Linked DNA regions of Homo sapiens: region 2 is linked to region 1. The links are contacts of gene promoters, found by promoter capture Hi-C in human tissues and cell types (Jung and others, 2019). All regions are on one chromosome and are shown on one strand. Each heading gives the region's core, a stretch centred on a gene start or on the middle of the fragment in contact. The rest is flanking DNA. Distances are from core to core; before and after follow the strand shown. Region 1 holds the start of FERMT1 (FERM domain containing kindlin 1). Region 2 has its middle 220 kb from the start of BMP2.

Region 1 (4,057 bases), core at 913-3,412:
CTTTCTCAAAAAAAAAAAAAAAAAAAAAAGCCTAGGACACATAATATGGATAAAACTCACAAACATAATGTTGAACACAAGAAGCCAGACACAAAATAGTGCACATGGTCTGATTCCATTTATATAAAGTACAAAGACAGGCAAAACCCTTCTGAGGAGTTAGAAGATAAGATAATGGTTATCCTGGGCCTGGGGTCGGGGGTAGGGGCAGGCAGCGGCAGTGATCATAACTGAAAGGAATAACTAAAAGGGGTCACTAACGGGCTTCCGAGGACTGGTGATGTCCTGTTTCTTCAACTGGGCACTCTTTATACGCTAGTGTCTTTATATACTCTGTATACAGGTGTGTTCAGTTTGCGAAAACTCATCAGCTATACATTCACGATTTGTGCTCTTATCTATATATATTGTGTATATGTATGGGTGTGTATATATATGATACACATTTATATACACACAAGTCACTACATAAAATTACAAGTTTAAAAATTAACCTAGGCCAAGAAGAACGCTTAAAACCAGTCGAATTCTTTAGCACAATGCAGATATTTTCAATTGAAAAGAGAAAAACCATATTGGTATGAATAGATAGAGCCATAATTCAAGGTCACACATAAAATCTTGACCACAGGCTGGGCACGGTGGATCACACCTGTAATCTTAACACTTTGGGAGGCCGAGGCAGGTAGATCACAAGGTCAAGAGATCAAGACCATCCTGGCCAACATCATGAAACCTGGTCTCTACTAAAAATACAAAAATTGTAGTCCCAGCTGCTCGGGAGACTGAGGCAGGAGAATCACTTGAACCCGGGAGGCGGAGGGTGCAGCAGTGAGCCAAGATCGTGCCACTGCACTCCTGCCTGGGGACAGAACAAGACTCCATCTCAAAAAAATATATGTGTGTGTGTGTGTGTGTGTGTGTGTGTGTGTGTGTTTGTGCGCGCGCGCGCGCGCGCACTGACCACAGTCTAAGTTCTAATGGGCCATAAGCAGGGTTTCATGATGTTAAGAGGTAGGGAAGTGGGACCAGATGACCCTTCCCATCGTTGACAAACGCTACCAAGTGAAGACATTCTGTTTCAAGTTTTTAATGATTTTATTTCAATTATAATATCCTATATTTGCCAACAATGTTCAACTAACCTTTTTAAATTAAATGTACTTTCAAACCCATAATAATTCCTGAATATGGTAATGTTTAAGCGAAAACAGATTCAACTTCTAAATTTTATAACTTCTTTATTAAAATTTAAGTGTTCACAAGCCTTTTAATGCAAATCGCTAAAGCCTGTACTATATTGCATGAAATCCCTCCGTGGAAGAGCACGCATTCTATCTCTGTACCTATTTCACAGATGAGGAAACTGTCATTTCCATGTCTGTTTTATTAACCACTGTATTCTCTGAGCCCAGGCCCATTGGGAGGCCTGTAGAGCAGTAAGCACTCAACAAATGTGATTAAATGAACAAAGGAGGCTTGGAGAGGTTGTGTAAACTGCCCAGGTCACCCACCCTTCCTGGGTGGCCCCAGCCCTCTTTGAAAATAAATCCAACAGGAAGGCGACTGGCGGGACCGGTGGTGATCCTGAGGTGAGCCATACCAGGTGTGGCCCAGACTTCCGCATGCAGCCTGCCCTTGGGTCTCCTGGAGTCTCCCCTGGTCGGGAGCCTCAGCCTTCTGGAGACTGACACCACCCTCTTACTCAGAGACGAATCGTTTTGTCGTTGCCTTCACCTCCCTGACCACAAGTGCTCCGGGGCTCTTTCTGAGGGAGGCAGCTGTTCTAGGCGGGAGGCTGGAGTCTCCTGGGCCTGGACGCACCCCGGGGTGTGAGTGATGGGTATGCCTGAAAGGAGGGGAAGTGGCGCGGCTTTAATCATCTGGGCTAGTCCCCGGCGGGCCTGGGGGAACAGGGAAACTGGAGGCGGCCTTAAAGCGTCAGGATGAGACATCGCAAGAGGAGCTGCAGATACTGAGCGTGCGCCCCGGGTTCTCGCCGCCTTCTCTCCGCCGAGCAGCCCTTCGGCCACCCTTTGCCCTTAAAAATCTGCAGACTGCGCCTCCTCTCCGCGGGAGCGAGACCTAGCAGGCCCGGGGCTGGGCGTGCCCTCGCCTGCCACGCTGCGCGCTGCCCTCAGCCGGGCCGCTGGGGCCGTGCAGTGCACCGGGCACGCCGCGCCAGGCTGGGGGCAGGCACCGAGCCTCCGTGGGAGGTCCCGAGGCAGCTTCGCCTGCTCGCCCTGGCTCCAGCCCTCACCTGCCGCAGCCTTAGCTGAGCAGCCGCCGCCACTGGGCGCCCCCCGCTCCCCACTTCGCCAGCGCCCGCTCCTCGGCTCGGCCCGGGGTAGTTTGTAGGGACGCAGCTCTCCACGTGCGCGACTGCGAGGCTGGACGCTACGGGCTCCTGGAAAGGAGGTGGGTGCTCCGGAGCTAGGGCTGGGGAGCTAGAGGTTGGGAGGCTTTCATGGGCACCAGTGGCTCCTGAGCCCCCTTAGCCCCTTTCTTTCTGCAGCCTCTTGTACTTAAATAGCTGTTGATTGAAAATAATTTCGTCTGGATGTGACCACCTTCTCCGGCCCTACGCATCTGGCCGCAAAATAAACTTTCAGTTCAGCCGCAGGTGCTGCCTTAATGGGAGTAAGGGGCATGCTTTATCCACCCAACATCCGCCCCAGGATCCTGCAGAGCTGGCAAAAGACAGGTCGGGTGGCCTTCGAACACCAAGCACCTTCAGATATTCCAGGGGAAGGGTCGGGGACTGTTTCCCCCTCATCTTTCCTCCTTCCTGCTCTCCATCCCTCCATGCTTTCGTTTCTTTGACTGTCTGCGAAGGGCTTTTCAGCACTCTGCCAGTAACTTTGCTTCTTGTTTTGGTCTCCTTAGATGCGTTTTCCCGGCTGAAGTTTGCTGCTATCCTTGACAAGTAACAGCTTGCTGCAGACTAGACGTTCACTCAAAAATGAAGGCACAGAAAGATAGGAAAGGAATGCAGGAAAACCAGCTTGGCTAATTTTAGCCTGCATTTTGTTGTAAGGGGAATCAGCATCTATTGCCTGAATGAGTAGTGTTTTGATCACCCAAGTTAGGAAAAGACCTTATATCAGATTGCCCAGTGAAATAAGCAGTAAGGAATCACCTTTAAAAGTTATTTTCTTTATATACAAAACATTTTAAATAACTAGACTTCACAATTATAGCATTTAAGAAATTGTAAGGATCTTAAAGTCGAACAGTTCAATGCCAAGTTATGAGTTTGACGATGAAGGGGCATCTTTTGTCTCCTCACTGCGCAAGATTTGTGTTGATAGAAATGCTTAGTAAAGGCTACTGAGAATTTAGTTCACGTAGTTTGAGGAGTTTTCTTTCATTTTGGCATTGCAACATTATCAAAGTGGTTTCCCAGTGTGGTGAATAAGAGTTTGAAATAGAAAGGCAGACCTGGATTTCCACCTGGGCTCCAGCATCTAACTTGCTGTGTGACCTCAGGCAACTTGCTTCATCTCTCTGAGGCTGAGTTTCCTCATTTCTAAATGAGATTGCTGAGAGGATGAAAAAGGGATAACAGAAGACAGGAGTTAACACAGAGCACATCATACAGTCAGTAGGTAATAAATGATACCTGAAGCTGATGATGACAGAGGCAAGCAGTTAGGCCTAATGCAGTCACTGAGTGGCACTCCTCATGCAGAGGGTTCTGTGTGGATCTCTGTGCATGGGGAGGAGATGCATTGCATCGTTGCATGCTTCTGACTATAGAAACATAAGGAACGGCTGGGCGTGGTGGCCCACGCCTGTAATGCCAGCACTTTGGGAGGCCAAGGCAGGTGGATCACGAGATCAGGAGTTCAAGACCAGCCTGGCCAGCATGGTGAAACCCTGTCTCTACTAAAAATACAAAAATTAACCGGGCGTGGTGGCACACGCCTGTAATCTCAGCTACTTGGGAGGCTGAGGCAGAGAATTGCTTGAACCCGGGAGGCAGAGGTTGCAGTGAGCTAAGATCATGCCACTGCACTCCAGCCTGGGTGACAGAGCAAGACTCCATCTCAAAAAA
Region 2 (4,057 bases), core at 636-3,135, 860 kb before region 1:
ATTGAGTGCTTGGTTGGGTGAGGGAGGATTATTTTGGGACATTGTATGTCTAAAAATGACTTTACTCTGTCCTAACACTGGAACGAAAGTTTTGCTAGGTATACAATTATGGTTTGAGGAATCATTTTCACTAAAAGTTTTGAAGACCTATTCCAGTGCATTCTAGTTGCTCTCTGATACCATTCCTACACTTTATTCTTTGTTATGTTCTCATTTCTTCAGCCCCTGGAGGTTATTACAATTTTCTCTTTATCACTTGTTTCATAAAATTATCATGATAAAGTTGCTTTGGTGGAGTCACTTTTTTATTCACTGTAGTGAATACTTGGTGGAAAAGTTCAATGCCCTTAGCACTGACAAATTTTCTTTTTTTTAATTTAATTTTATATTTTTGAGAGAAAGATTCTTGCTATTGTTGCTAGGCTGGCTTCTTGAACTCCTGGACTCAGGCGATCCTCTCACCTCAGCCTCCTGAGTAGCTGGAATTAGAGGTGTGTGCTACCACTCATGGCTAGTACCTGACAAATTTTCTTACATTATTTTGTTGATAATGTCCTCCTCCCTATTTTTTCTGTTCTCATCTTTTCAAACACTTAGTAACTGCGTATTAGGTCACCTAGAATCATCTGATAGTATTCTTATAACTGCTATAACACATCTCATTTTCTTTTTATTTCTATAATTTGGACATTTCCCTCAAATTTATTTTCCAAAACTTCTTTTTTTAAAATTTTAATCCTATTATTAATTTACAAGATCTCATTCTATTCTTTGTTCCATTTTGACAACATTTTAATATGCAATGGTTATAATATCTTTATATATCTTTTTAACATGATTAATAAGAATTTCTTTAAAGCAGTCTTTTCTTCCCTATATTACGTCTTCTTTTTCAGACTTCTTTGTTCTTGTTTGTTATGTTCCATATCTTCCCTGTAGTAGGATTTCCTCAAATGGCTGATGTTGCTTGTTCATCCATTTACTTAACAGTAAAACAACAAATAGTTGAATGGAAGCTTTATTTATGTTTGTGGGGTTTGTACATAGGGGAGGTTGACTCTCAGGTGATTAGATGAAAAGATGGCTGCATCTTTGCATAGAACCAAGTAGAGATACTAGCATCTTTGCTGCTAGCTCAAAACTATGAATCTCCTGGTATTCTTTCTGTAGATCATTTTGGTGCTCCACAAAATTAACCTCCAATGTTATGTCTGGGAAGGGGTATATCTAAAGGCAGGACTACAGGCAGGAAAGGTAGTTCTCACCTTTTGATTTAAAGACTTCTACTTCATGGTATTATAATCAACACAAAACCTCCAGCTTATCCTCTTCGGGGCTCCTCATTCCTAATCACTGAGATTTTTCTAGTCCAATTTCTCTAGAGAATAAACTTCCAAGGCTCTTGCAGGTATTAGGAGTGGGAAGTGTTTGGATCACAAGGGTGGATCCCTCATGTCTTGGTGCTATCTTTGTGTTAGTGAGTTCTCACGAGATCTAGTGGTTGAAAAGTGTGTGGCACCTACCCGGCCCCCACTGCTGTTCTTGCCATGTGATGTGTTTGCTCCTGCTTTGCCTTTTGCCATGATTGAGATCTCCCTGAGGCTTCACCAGAAGCTGAGCAGATGCCAGCACCATGCTCCCTGTAAAGCCTGCAGAACTGTGAGACAGTTAAATGTCTTTGCTTAATAAGTTACCCAGTCTCAGGTATTTTATTAAAGCAATGCAATAATGAACTAATACACAAAATTTCCCACTATTTTTTTTTTTTTTTTTTTTTTACTTTTTGACAACCTGTGGAGAAGATGTCAAAAAATGCTTTATCTATTCTACCATTTGGAAATAAAAGCATTCATTTTCTGTTAATGCCCATACCCTTTTTGCTCTTATAGTTCAAGCTGTACTTTTTACTTTCCTTCTCCTAGCAAGATAGCCTTGCCCACCACCATCCCTAAATGTTTAAAGGCCCAGTTTTTTTCTCAAAATTTTATCTTTAACCTGAACTTTTTGTTTCTTTAACTTTTGTGACTGGCTTTTTTTGTTTTTAACTTTTATTTTAGGTTCAATGTACATGTGCAGATCTCCTATATAGGTAAACTGCGTGTCACAGGGGTTTGCTGGGCAGATTATTTCATTACCCAGGGAATAAGCATAGTGGTGGCGGTTTTTTGACCCTCACCCTCTTCCCAACCTCCACCCTCAAGTACGCCCCAGTGTCTGTTGTTCCCGTATTTGTGTCCAAGGATACTCAGTGTTTAGCTCCCACTTATAAGTGAGAATATGCAGTATTTGGTTTTCTCTTCCTGTGTTAGGTTGCTTAGGATAATGGCCTCCCACTGCATCGATTTTCCTGAAAAGGTCAAGATCTTGTTGTTTTTTTATGGCTGTGTAGTATTTCATGGTGTGTATGTACACATTTTCTTTACCCAATCCACTGTTAATGGGCACCTTGGTTGATTCCATGTCTTTGCTCTTTGCTCTTCTGAATAGTGCTGCAATGAACACACAAGTGCGTGTGTCTTATCGGTAAAGCAATTTATTTTCTTTTGAATACACACCCAGTAATGAAATTGATGGGTCAAATAGTAATTTTGTTTTTGCTTTTGTTTTTGTTTCTTTATTTTGAGACAGAGTTTCACTGTTGTTGCCCAGGCTGTAGCGCAATGGCGTAATCTCAGCTCACCAAAACCTCCGCCTCCTGGGTTCAAGTGATTCTCCTGCCTCAGCTTCCCTAGTAGCTGGGATTACAGGCATGCACCACAGTGACCAGCTAATTTTGTATTTTTAGTAGAGACGGTGTTTCTCCATATTGGTCAGGCTGGTCTCGAACTCCTGATCTCAGGTGATCTGCCCACCTTGGCCTCCCAAAGTGCTGGAATTACAGGCGTGAGCCACCGCACCCAGCCAATTGTTATAAGTTCTTTTGAGAAAAGCCTCAAAACTGCTTTCCACAAGCTTTGGGGTTGGTTTTCTCTTGTTTCTCCAGTTTCTCTAGATGTGATGTTAGGTTGTTAATTTGAGATCTTTCTAATTTTTTGATGTAAGTGTTTAGCACTATAAACTTCCCTCTTGACACTGCTTTAGCATCCCACAGATTCTGTTATGTTGTATCTTTGTTCTCATTAGTTTCTAAGAATTTTCTCTTCCTGCATTAGTTTGGTTTCTACCTTAATTTTATTGTTTACACACAAGTCATTCAGGAGCTGGTTAATTTCTATGTAATTATATTGTTTTGAGCTATTTGTTAGTATTGATTTCAGTTTTTATTGTGCTGTTGTCTGAGAACATGGTTAATATATTTTCATTTTTTAAAAATTTGCTGAGGATTATTTTATGAACAATTGTGTGGTCAATTTTAGAGTATGTGCCATGTACAGATGAGAAGAACGAATATTCTGGAATTTGAGGGTAGAGAGTTCTGTGGATGTCTGTTAGGTCCATTTGGTTAAATGTCAAATTCGGGTCCTAAATGTCTGTTAATTTTCTGCCTCAGTAATCTGTCTAATACTGTCAGTGAGATGCTGAAGTACCCCACTATTTTTGTGTGATTATCCAAGTCTCTTTATAGGTCTCTAACAACTTGTTTTATGAATCTGGGCACTCCTGTGTTGGGTAATAGGTATTTAAGATAGTTAGGTCTTGTTGAATTGAACCCTTTACCATTATGTCATGTGCTTCTTTGTCTTTTTAAATCATTGCTGGTTTAAAGTCTGTTTTGTCTGAAGTTAGAATAGCAACTCCTGCTTTTTTCTGTTTTCCATTTGCTTAGATTTTTTTTCCATCCCTTTACTTCGAGCCTGTGAATGTCATTGTATGTATGATGGGTCACTTGAAGACAACATACAGTGGAGTCCTGCTTCTTTATCCAACTTGCCAGTCTGTGCCTTTTAATAGGGGCATTTAGTCAGTTTACTTTCAAGATTAATATTGATATGTTCAGGTTTGATCCTTTCACTGTGTTGTTAGCTAGTTATTATGAAGACTTGATTGTACGGTTGCTTTATAGCGTGGATGGTCTACGTACTTAAGTGTGTTTCTGTGGTGGCTGGTAATGGTCTTC

Evidence for each region. The method cuts DNA at HindIII sites, captures the fragments that hold promoters and counts their contacts. A contact is called where the count stands out against the background at its distance.
Region 2: a fragment that was not itself captured here is called in contact with the fragment with the promoter of FERMT1 in region 1 in 1 of the 25 tissues and cell types used here (mesenchymal stem cells).

What each region holds. Positions count from the first base shown.
Region 1 is chr20:6,121,135-6,125,191 of GRCh38, reverse strand. It overlaps FERMT1 (FERM domain containing kindlin 1), which reads left to right and starts at 2,162. Exons shown (of 15, transcript NM_017671.5): 1 at 2,162-2,418. RefSeq lists a silencer at 2,157-2,276. The HindIII fragment of the contact is 15,378 bases long and covers 1-4,057 here.
Region 2 is chr20:6,984,910-6,988,966 of GRCh38, reverse strand. No RefSeq gene overlaps it. Among named protein-coding and RNA genes, the nearest start is that of BMP2, 220 kb to the right of the region's middle. The HindIII fragment of the contact is 4,686 bases long and covers 1-4,057 here.